4 separate regions of the Homo sapiens genome follow, and all the other regions are linked to region 1. The links are contacts of gene promoters, found by promoter capture Hi-C in blood cells and fetal thymus (Javierre and others, 2016). All regions are on one chromosome and are shown on one strand. Each heading gives the region's core, a stretch centred on a gene start or on the middle of the fragment in contact. The rest is flanking DNA. Distances are from core to core; before and after follow the strand shown. Region 1 holds the start of SEM1 (SEM1 26S proteasome subunit). Region 2 holds the start of DYNC1I1 (dynein cytoplasmic 1 intermediate chain 1). Region 3 overlaps SLC25A13 (solute carrier family 25 member 13). Region 4 overlaps SLC25A13 (solute carrier family 25 member 13).

What was found. The method cuts DNA at HindIII sites, captures the fragments that hold promoters and counts their contacts. A CHiCAGO score of 5 or more calls a contact.
Region 2: the fragment with the promoter of DYNC1I1 here is called in contact with the fragment with the promoter of SEM1 in region 1 in 3 of 17 cell types (neutrophils, endothelial precursors and megakaryocytes); the score reaches 8.7 in neutrophils.
Region 3: a fragment that was not itself captured here is called in contact with the fragment with the promoter of SEM1 in region 1 in 1 of 17 cell types (endothelial precursors); the score reaches 5.8 in endothelial precursors.
Region 4: a fragment that was not itself captured here is called in contact with the fragment with the promoter of SEM1 in region 1 in 1 of 17 cell types (endothelial precursors); the score reaches 6.2 in endothelial precursors.

Annotation. Positions count from the first base shown.
Region 1 is chr7:96,708,463-96,711,162 of GRCh38, forward strand. It overlaps SEM1 (SEM1 26S proteasome subunit), which reads right to left and starts at 1,384. Exons shown (of 3, transcript NM_006304.2): 1 at 1,226-1,384. The coding sequence starts at 1,301. RefSeq lists enhancers at 1,199-1,398, 1,569-1,658. The HindIII fragment of the contact is 9,533 bases long and covers 1-2,700 here.
Region 2 is chr7:95,771,197-95,773,896 of GRCh38, forward strand. DYNC1I1 (dynein cytoplasmic 1 intermediate chain 1) reads left to right here and starts at 1,358. Exons shown (of 17, transcript NM_001135556.2): 1 at 1,358-1,577. The HindIII fragment of the contact is 2,753 bases long and covers 524-2,700 here.
Region 3 is chr7:96,170,160-96,172,859 of GRCh38, forward strand. It overlaps SLC25A13 (solute carrier family 25 member 13), which reads right to left. Exons shown (of 18, transcript NM_014251.3): 12 at 1,313-1,365. Among named protein-coding and RNA genes, the nearest start is that of MIR591, 48 kb to the right of the region's middle. The HindIII fragment of the contact is 3,804 bases long and covers 1-2,700 here.
Region 4 is chr7:96,126,061-96,128,760 of GRCh38, forward strand. All of the region lies in intron 15 of SLC25A13 (solute carrier family 25 member 13), which reads right to left. It also overlaps the pseudogene CYCSP18. Among named protein-coding and RNA genes, the nearest start is that of MIR591, 92 kb to the right of the region's middle. The HindIII fragment of the contact is 931 bases long and covers 840-1,770 here.

The DNA.
Region 1 (2,700 bases), core at 134-2,633:
TTTAGTGAAGTAGTAATTGCTTGATGCAACAGGATGTGTACCCCATTAACCACAATTCTCTTTCTACCACCTTCAGAAAGTAATCTCCTTTTCTTATAAGGTAAATATTTACAAATCCTACTCATCAACCATCAGCCAATAAAGCAGCCTATTTTGAAAACCTAACTGGCAACAGCAATCTCACAAACAGAAGCAGTACAGCTGAAGTTAAGAGCTTTGGTGTCAATCAGGCCAGGTTTCCCAGTTCCAGTTCTATTATTTCTAACTAGTTATGAGACATCAGAAGGTTTCTTAACCATTCCGAGCTTCAGTTTATCTGAAGAATGGCAATACTGAGGCCTACTTCTTATATTTATGAAAGTGGAATATGCTATTACAAGTAAAGCACTTAGACAAGTTCCTGAAAACAACAGCCACTCAATAAATGTTAGCAATTTGCTATTATCTACAATGAAAAAACCAGGTCTTTAGTTTTGAAGCTAAAAAAAAAAATGTGTAAGGTTTAGGTTCTTTTAAAAAAATATTTTATTTTTGTAGGGACAGGGTCTCGCTATGTTGCCCAGGCTGGTCTTGAACTCCTGACCTTATGTGATCCTCCTGCCTCTTCCTCCCAAACTGCTGCGATTACAGGCGTGAGCCACCACACCCGGCAAGTTTTAGGGTCTTATAAAGCATTAAGTTAGGTCACAGTTAAGTGATCAAAATGGTGAGGAACAGGAATGAGGCAATAATGTGTATTAAGCACCCCGTATCTTACCCTCCTATCCTACTTAATGAGGCTTCATTTGTAACATCCTAAAAGTTAAGCAGCATTGGCGTAACTACTGACAATTCAATTCTGGAAAGGTTTAAAGACAAAGAAAGACTGCTAAAACAAAAAGAAAAGGAGGTTATGTAGACTTGAACTAAGTTTAAGTGGTGAGTAACCCAGGTGAACAGTAAATGGACCAACCATCACAGACGCGGGGCTATGGGTCCAGACTCACGGTGGCTCCTCCCAGTGAGGAAGCCGAAGCCATTGGGCCTCACCAGTGAGTCCCAGCGCAACACCCCAAACCCGAATCTGGGGCGCCACTGAGGGGTGAGCGTTAGCGCCTCGAGTGCCGGCCCTGGGAGTCCAAACTTCCCGCCGGTGCCCCCAGCTGGGCCCGAGCACCCAAGCTACCTCCACACGGAGGCCTGAGTCACCGTTCGCGCGACACAGAAACCGGGGCCCAGCGGTTACCTTCGGCAGGGAACTCTTCAAACTCGTCGTCTTCCTCTAACAGACCTAAGTCTACCGGCTGCTTTTTCTCTGACATCTCGACTGTCCGCGCCCAACACCTCCCAGATAAGCAGAAAAGTTGGAACCCTCACTCTTCCTCAAGGAAACGCCACCGTCACTACCGCCTCCGACGCTGACGCTACCATAGAGACTTGGGGAAAGAATACGGGAGCAGCGCGAGGAATGCTGGGATACTGGAGGTCGGCCCAGCGCTTCCTGCGGGGTTAGCGCTTTTTCCGAGTTGTAGAGGTGATTTTTTTTTTTTTTTTTTTTTGGTCTCTACCTTGTTATTCGGACTCTCTGTATTGCCAAAGTTGAGATCCGTGTAGTTTTCCTGACTATAAGAGACTCATAATGTGTAAAACAAACAAACAAAAAAACCCTTAGTTTGCAACCGAGGAAGGAACTCTAGAGAGACTACAGTGTGACTGCAAACATTCATCAGCCCTTCACATACGTTATTACCTCCAGTCCTTAAGCCAGTTCCCTAAAGGTGGTATTAAATGTCTCCACATCACAGAAAATTCAGGTTCGGTAGGAAGCAGCCGAAGTCACTCAGGTAGTTCTAGACAACCGAAATGCAGATTTTTTTGCCTGGCTCCAATCTCCAGACTTTTCCATTAGGCAGTGTTTATAAGGTCTTAGAATTACTTTGTGGTAAAATAGCTTTTTAAATAGAATTTGTGTGGTGTGTATGTGTGTGTAGTAACTCTGGTTTACAGGTTATTATACAGTAATGCTATTTATGGATTTGTGTAACATTTTATGGTGTTCAAAATATATCATTTAGAATTGTTTGAATAGCATTTGAATATCATTTTGAATACAGTAGTGAACTTCATGGAACTCTATATATAATATATGGATGTATATGGATGAATATTATGGAATATACGTACACAAATTGAGTATTATTGTAAATGTTGATACATGTTCCAGATTATATCTATAAATGCCATTCCTTTATTCAACAATGTAAGGTCATACCGCTTACCAGGAGCTGTGCATCAAACATGTATAGACAAGGTCCCTTTCTTCAAGGAGCTTATATGCTGCTCAGAGACATGTAAACAGATAAATCACAATGAAACACAGTAATCCACTTGAATCTGCATCTTAATATTAGTGAGAAATGAACAGAGTGTTTGGGAATACAGAAAATTGAATAACTAAATGTAGAACAAACTTGGCCAAGAACTACAATTAGATGAAATTTTTAAAAAATGTATCTCTTATACTATTTGATTTATATAGATTACTGAAAATAATGGTATCTCACTACCAAAAAAATTATGTCAGGTAATGCATATCTTATTTAGTGTGATTTAGTCATTATACAATGTATTTGTATTTTAAAACATGTGCTCCCAAATATAGGCAATTTTTATTTGTCAATTAAAATAATTTTTTAAAGAAGGTAAAAAAAAAAAGATTTT
Region 2 (2,700 bases), core at 108-2,607, 940 kb before region 1:
ATAGAAAAGTTAAAGAAAAATGTATGTAGAATTGACATGTATTAAATATTCAGTCACGGTAGTGGCAAATATTTATTTCCTAGATTTTTCCTTCTGGAATACCTTGAATACCTTCTACCTAGACATTTAACCTCTTCATTTCTAGCCATAGTTACAATCGCAGTAGATTAGCCAGGGAGGCCAAAGTTTTAGAATAAGGATGGCCATTTACAGATGAGTATGTATTCATACTGTATTCATACTAGAATCTGTATTTATTTTGAAATTACTGTAGTACTTGTGAATTAATAAGTTCATAAATATTTACTGAGTACCCATTATATATCAGAATGCTGTTCTAGATACTAAGAATACAGCAGTGAACAAGATAGCGTCCCTGCCCTCCACTAATTTACATTCTAATGTGTAAAAATACACCACAGATGTGCAAGAAATATGATGAAAAGCTCATCTATAAAATGATACCAAACCCCCTAACATCCCAAACTCAATTTTTTGGCCTTATAACTTAGCTGTTGTGGCAAGCTTGTTTTTTGCAGAGTCCAATAATAGTTACCCAGATTTTTTTTTGTTTCCCCGAGACGGAGTTTCGCTCTTGTTGCCCAGGCTTTGAGTGCAGTGGCGGGATCTCGGTTCACCACAACCTCCGCCTCCCGGGTTCAACCATTCTCCTGCCTTAGCCTCCCGAGTAGCTGGGATTACTGGCATGCACCACCACGCCCGGCTAATTTTGTATTTTTAGTAGAGACGGGGTTTTTTCATGTTGGTCAGGCTGGTCCCCCAACTCTCGACCTCAGGTGATCCGCCCTCCTCGGCCTCCCAAAGTGCTTGGATTACAGGCGTGAGCCACCGCGTCTGGCCAGTTACCCAGATTTTTAAAAGCTGGGACTTTAAGAAGCAATGTGAAGACAAGCTACACACACACCACACCACACACACACACACACACACACACACACACACAGACACACACACTTAATTCTTTTTTCTTCTAGAAAAATTGGGATCAATCAGACCTATAAGTCATTGTGTACAACAGGTAGATCTGAGCTTTATTTCTATTTAAATGACCTTAAGAAGTGTAGTTGCCTGGGAGTGAAAGTTGTTCAATGGTGGCATTTCAGCAGGAGCTCCCAGAATATTGAAGCTCTTCTCTTTGCAGCAACTGAGGTCTAAGTCCTACCGACGTTAGAGGGATAGACGAATTGACCTTTCCAGGTCCTCTGCTCGCCACCAGCCTACGGAGCGGCGCCACCCCCTCCTGGCGAGACCGGGCGCGGAAGACGCGGAGCGGAGGCCCTCCCTCAGGAGGGGCGCGGGCGTGGAGGGCGTGGGCAGGGGGCGGGGCGAGCCCCGCAGACTGAGTGCTCCGGGGAGCTGTCAGTGTCAGGCTCTGGGAGAGAGGAAGTGATCGCTCCCGGAGGAGCGCGAGCCGAGCGGCCGGCGCAGCGTGAGACAGCACATCCTGCCCGCGCCGGCCCCGCCACCTTCGGGAGCCGCCTGCACCAACGCTGCCGCCGCCCAGGAGCCGCCGCCGGCTCGGGGAGCCCAGTTCCGCCGCTGCCGAGCGCGTCCAGGTAAACTGGAGCGGGATGTCGCCGCTCCCCGGACGGCCGCCTCCGCACCTCTCCCCAACCCTCCCCACCCCGGTGTCGTCTGCGCTGGGAACCAGGCTGGAGCCGAGGCCCCTGCAGCCGCAGCCGGACCCTTGTCCTGGCCCCCTGCCCAGGCTCCTGCGTGCTCCGCTGAGCCCGAAGGCGGCCAAAGCCCCCCAGTGACACCCCCCTCTCGGCAGAGCCGAGAGACTAGGGCAGAGAAGGAAGGGTCGTGGTGTCACCACCTGGTCGCCCACCTTGTGGGCTGGGAAGGGCGTCCCAGTGCGCCCCGCCTCGGTCTTCCCCGGGGGAGCAGTGGGCGAGCGGCGCTGAAATCTGCACCCCTCTGGGCCACCGGCTGACTGCCCCTGGAGGAGGGGGAAAGCTGCAGAGGGAGGGGAAAGGATGCTGTTTGATTACATTTCGAGCTGTCTGCAAAGCTCTTAGATGCTGTCACTACCCTGCAAGTCGGAGGGAGCGAATTCACTTCCAGCAGGGCATTAATTAAACACTTCAAAGCGAGAAGATGCCAGTTTCTCTCTGCTGCGAAAAAGTGTGGCTGGGGGATGTTGTTTTGGTAAACACCTTCACGGCCGCCTGGCTCTCCTTCCCCCGCTCCCATTCGGAATCGCTCTGGCCTTATAAATCCGTGCGTCGTCATCATAAGGGCAGTGATCCTGGCAGCGCTGATGGGAACTGAGTGTGCGGGAGTCTCATGACTTGTACCTTGGCTAATAAGATTAAACAGAAGCCCAGGATCAGGACAGGAAATTACATAGGAGATCAGAGACTCAACAACATGCAGAAGATGGAATATATTCGCTATTCTGGCCTCTACTAATCCTAGGTAAGGGGCAGGAACAAGTAGCCAGCCATTTTCTTGCTTGGAATGCCTTTCAAGTGGGCATTGTAGACTTATTGTAGTTCAGAGTTGTGAAGAATTGCTTCCAAATATTCCAGATTAGCAAAAAGTATAGCTAACAGTAAGGCATAGGCAACTGCAGGTGACAACCCAACGCCTGATGTTAACACAGACATGGGTAACCAGTCTGTGTACATACTTTAATTGTGGAAATTATAGAGATATACGTTGATCAGTGTTAGT
Region 3 (2,700 bases), core at 98-2,597, 540 kb before region 1:
ATATAAAGAAAGTCATTAAACACTTATAAATATGCATCTGTCAATATATGCTATTTTTTTCTATCAGTCTATTGGAGTAATCATAAATTGCACAATTTAACAGATCTTAAAATAGTTTGAGAAGTACTCTTAATAGTATAATAGTTTTAAAAAATGAAAAATATATATGCATCACTGATGTTTCAGGAGAAAAGTTAAAAGATAAATGAAAGCCAAAAATATGTTCTGCAATTAGAATAGCTTAAGAAGGGAGACACACTGACAATAGTGACAAAATAAAAACATACATCTTACAACTTAAAACTGTTTTATAAGGCTTGATTAAAAATCACTTTCAAGTCTTCTAACAAGAATTAATCTAAAACAGTACTCATCATGGAGATAAATTTGGCTGAGCAGACTTTTTCAGCTTAGAAGAAATTCAATATCTAAAAATTCCTCAAGGATTCTCAAAGAACATAAATTACATTAATTAATTAATATAATATTCTCAAAATGGTATGTAGTACAAGAAATTTTAAGAAACAGTCATATCTTTTTGGCAGACATAGGCCAGAGAAGATTAGCTATCTCAAGGTCACATAACAAAATGGTAAAAGAAGAATTTCAGGCTCCAAAGCTACGCAGCCCAACCTAAAGCTAGAGTTTTACTTTCTGGGGCTTTGTGGCCTTAGTGATGCAAATATTTGTATATTCCACAAACGCTTAAACTGAATATCAACCATCTGTCAAATGTGAGCCAAGCACTGGGCAAATAATCTGATAAAGGATCAACTTCAACTAGAACCCAGATCCCTGCACATTTGGCTTTATAGAACACACCCTAACCATGAATCCTATAAAAACAGCAGGTGTAATAGAAAGACATGCTCTGGAGTCAGACAAGTGTGATTTTAAATTCTAGTTCTCCCACTCATGATTTGTGTGAACACAGGTATGCTACTTAAGCCCGATAGGCCTCAGTTTCCTTATCCGTAAACTGTGGATCATGCTTTGCTTGAGATTAAACCAGTAAAACGTAATATACGTCATGTGCCTAATATGGTAGATACTGAAGGGAATTTAGCTGCTACTGCTGTGATGACAACAATGATGGCAGCAACCACCAAAAGTCCTCAAGTTTATTATCACATTTTTGGATGTCCACTGCTAAATGGAGAATAATGAAAAAATGTGTGTGGTGAGTTCCCCTGCTTTCAAATTAGCTAGCACCTCTGAGAAAACAAACCTGCTGTTTCCTATAAGAATACCTGCTAGATTCTTGAGTATGTACAAAATCCCTTAATAAGAAGCACCAACTCAAAAGACTTACTGTAAGTTTTATGGCCTTCTCTGGGGCAACTCCCAATAACTGTGGCAACAGACCTAAAAATCAACAAAAAGTAGAAGTATATTAAATAAATTAGCATTAACTAAACAAATCAACAGTTCTACAGAGGGGATTACCACTTAAAAACTGCTTAATCTCTGCTGCAATTTTCTGCTATTACCCTTAATGAGAATATTTGAAATGGAATGTTTAAGTACTAACTTCTAACAGCCGCATCAGTCCCAAGTACATTCCATCTCACATTCTGGATCGTTTGCACATTGGGTAAATCAACAGTATTAGTGATATAGGAAATCTCATTATTCCCCCAAAGTCTGCTCCTTCCCTTCTGCCTTCTAAATCAGTGGACCACTTGATTTTCTAAAACAAGGACCAATTTTGGGGAAGGCAGTTAGAACATTTAGTGGAGCTACGTATCTGAACTAAAAAATGTCATCATTTTCATTTGTTCTTCTTAAAGAAAAAAAAATTAAATCACAGTTGTTTTTTCTTGGAAACACACACCAAGCTAACCCTGAAGGTAGGAGCATGTTGCACCCTGTGTCATACTGAGAGAGGTTCATGGTAATATTCTTCATTGGAAGTACAATTTTCTAATTTATCTATGTAAGAAAGTCCACTCACAGCCTCTTCTGAGGGACCAGCCCTGCCCACACTCTCTTCCTAAAGGAGCAGCCTGAGAGGTCACTAGCTTGAATGCCATATGTATCCAACCTATAAGTGTGTTTTATTGAGTAACAAAAAGTTTCAAACATAATCTGACCTCCTTGTAAGAAAGATCAATGAGGCCAGGCACGGTGGCTTATGCCTGTAATCCCAACACTTTGGGAGGCTGAGGAGGGTGGATCATCTGAGGTCAGGAGTTCGAGACCAGCCTGACCAACAAGGTGAAACCCTGTCTCTACTAAAAATACAAAAATTAGCTGGGTGTGGTGGCAGGCACCTGTAGTCCCAGCTAGTTGGGAGGCCAAGACAGGAGAATTGCTTGAACCCAGGAGGTGGAGGTTGCAGTGAGCCGAGATTGCACCACTGCACTCCAGCCCGGCAATGGAGCGAGACTCTGCCTCAAAAAAAAAAAAAGATCAATGAACACACTGACCTAACAGTCAGTTCATGGGCTCAGTTCTGACCGAACTCTGACTGACCCCGGGCCTCTTTCTGACATCCCAGCCATCTGCTCTATTGCATGAGGCTCCATCCTTCAGACAGAAACCATGCAAGGTGGTGCCCACCCTGCTTTGAGGCCCGTACCTCAATGAGGACAAGCGCCAGTTTGTATTTTTTTTTTTGACGGAGTCTCACTCTGTCGCCCAGGCTACAGTGCAGTGGCGCGATCTCGGCTCACTGCCAGCTCCGCCTCTTGGGTTCAT
Region 4 (2,700 bases), core at 55-2,554, 580 kb before region 1:
ATTCAAGTTCAAAGGATAGGCTGATTAGTATTATATACAAATGTTGTGGGTGACTTCTACCATATTCTAGGTATGCTTCACCCACAGGTCTCTCTCCTGAATGGGAGGGTCTATGGGCTTTGTGTAACTGGGTGCAAGGGGTTAGGATATGCTGGCAGGGTGTGGACCCTCCGAACTGCTGAAATGTAGGGAACTTCACTTTGGGGGTAGAAGAATTTATTTTAAATCCTTAATTCTTCTTGGGAAAAGCTGCCATCACTTTATTTTTTCCTGCATCTGTGGTAGAAGTCTTGAATTACCTTAAGTCCTGCCCTACTTTCTGTCCATTCCTTACACTTATCCTCTCTAGGGAAGTGGTCTCTTTCTTTAAAATTGAGCTCTGAGCTTTTAACTTGGATACAACTGTCTCCTGAAGCTCCATATGAAAACCAGGAGAGAGCTCCAAGCCTGGCAATCCTGAAGAAAGTATAGTTGCCTAACTCATGTTAATGATTTACCCTAAAACCTCCACCTCCACCCCAGGCATTCTATTCTTCACTCAAAGGTTAACATTCTCCAGTTCAGCCCTTGCATTAGAGGTAGTTTCTCCTGCTGTGTTTTGGACTGGGGCATCTCTCAGTCCAGTTTCAGAGTCAATATGGCTATTTCCTTTCTGCTGAGGGCCAGATTAGCATTTTCTAGTGCCAATAAAGAATTTTTTAAAAATGCATTTCCTGACATTTTAAGGTATTTGGGAAGACAGGAGAGATGGATGAATATGCTCAGTCTATTGTCTTGATTCAATTTCTTCATTACTTTTTTTAAGGGTTTAAGGACTGGTTTTAAACTATTATAACTTAAGCTTTATGTCCACATAATTAACAAATTTGTACCAACAGTAGTTTTCTCATAATACACAATCTAATGTTTGCAAAAGCATCATGATCACACATGTATAACACACTTCCACTTCTGTGTACTGGAACAGCTTTTAAAGGTATTTCTGTATTACAACTTAATCTCAAGCTAATTAATTCAAAGGTGAGACCATCATTACAGTTTGACTTGTTCCTCTATCTTATCACTCTGATAAAAATCATCTGGTATGATAGAGCATTCTATAAAATTTGAGTATTAGATATATTTTATTTGATATCATTCACAAGGTGTATTGAAATGCCCTTCATTAATGATAAAGCACCATGTTAATTATAGATAATTAGAATTTGATTTCTTAATTTCAGGACCCCCGCTTCGGTCTTCACTTTCTGACAAAGCTGATGTACTTTGGCCAATGAACATGAATTCAAATATTGGTTAGTCTTGTTCTATCTTGTGAAATAACGGAGTAGATGTTCCAGTATTTAAATATAGTCCCAGTTTATAACTAGATACATGAACAAAACAAAAACAAAAACACCAAAACCCAACATTCTCTAGGTGAGGATACCAATAACCACTTTTGCTAAAAAGCTACATATTACTAAAACAATCTAACCTCAAGGCTAATCAAATTTTTGGAAAGAAAACAGTGAGATAACATTACTGAATAATTGAAATTATTATCTAAACATAGAAAGCGTGGTCATATTCATTTAATCACAGGTCCATATTATTTATAATAGGCTGATGTTCAGCAAAAAATATTTTATGTATAAGTGATCAATTTAAATATGGTACATATAAAAATAGCCATGAGACATTTTTGTTTTATAAGTTAGAGGCCAACAATTATTCATTGTAGTTGCCTGAAACTCCATCTAAAAAGGAGGATTTTTGTATTTTGAAAGAAGCTTTTCTCCTATTAAATACTTTCTGGGATTCTCTGAATACCATGTATCCTCTCCCTAAGAAATGCCTTTGCTCTTCTTGGCAACCACAAAGGGAATGTGGGGGCCTGATCCGTCCTCCACCCAACAGCCCATTCAGGATTAGTGCACATTTGTGCTTGCTCACTGCCCTTCTTGGGGTTGCACGGGGCACACTTCTGACAAAAGTCTTGCCCTTCTCCACACTGAACTCAGCTCTGCCTGAGCATCTCAGCAAGGTTCCACACTCAGCCCTGCTCACCCCATGACATCACTCCTGCTCACTGGATATAGATTTTTTATGTTTATTTTATAACAAAATGCATTACTAATCTTTTTTCCTAATTCTAATATACTTCTTAGACATTTTAATTTTGATTTTCAGGTAAATAATCATTTATAAATAATGACTGCTTCCTTTCTTCTTTTATTTATGCCTTTTACTTTATTTTACCATGCTGACTGGAACCTCCAAAATATGGCTGAATAACAAAGATGAGAGAGACATCCTTGTCTTATTCCTAACTTTAATTGGAATGGTAACTATGACATTGACCACTGGCTTCTGATATCTGTTATTAAATTAAGAAAGTAGCTTACTTCGCATTACACAGTTTTTATAGTTTTGTAGAATACACAAAGACCATCAAGCTTTGTAGCTTATTCACTCTTTGAAGACTAAAATCAACAGGGCAAACTCGGTATTTTCCCATTTTACCAGAAACGGGGGATCAGGAGGAAGGTGGATAATAATAGGAAAGTCAATGCTCTTTAGGACAAATACCTAATGCATGCGGGGCTTAAAACCTAGATGATGGCTTGATGGGTGCAGCAAACCACCATGGCACTTGTATAACTATGTAACAAACCTGCGCATTCTGCACATGTATCCCAGAACTTAAAGTATAATAAT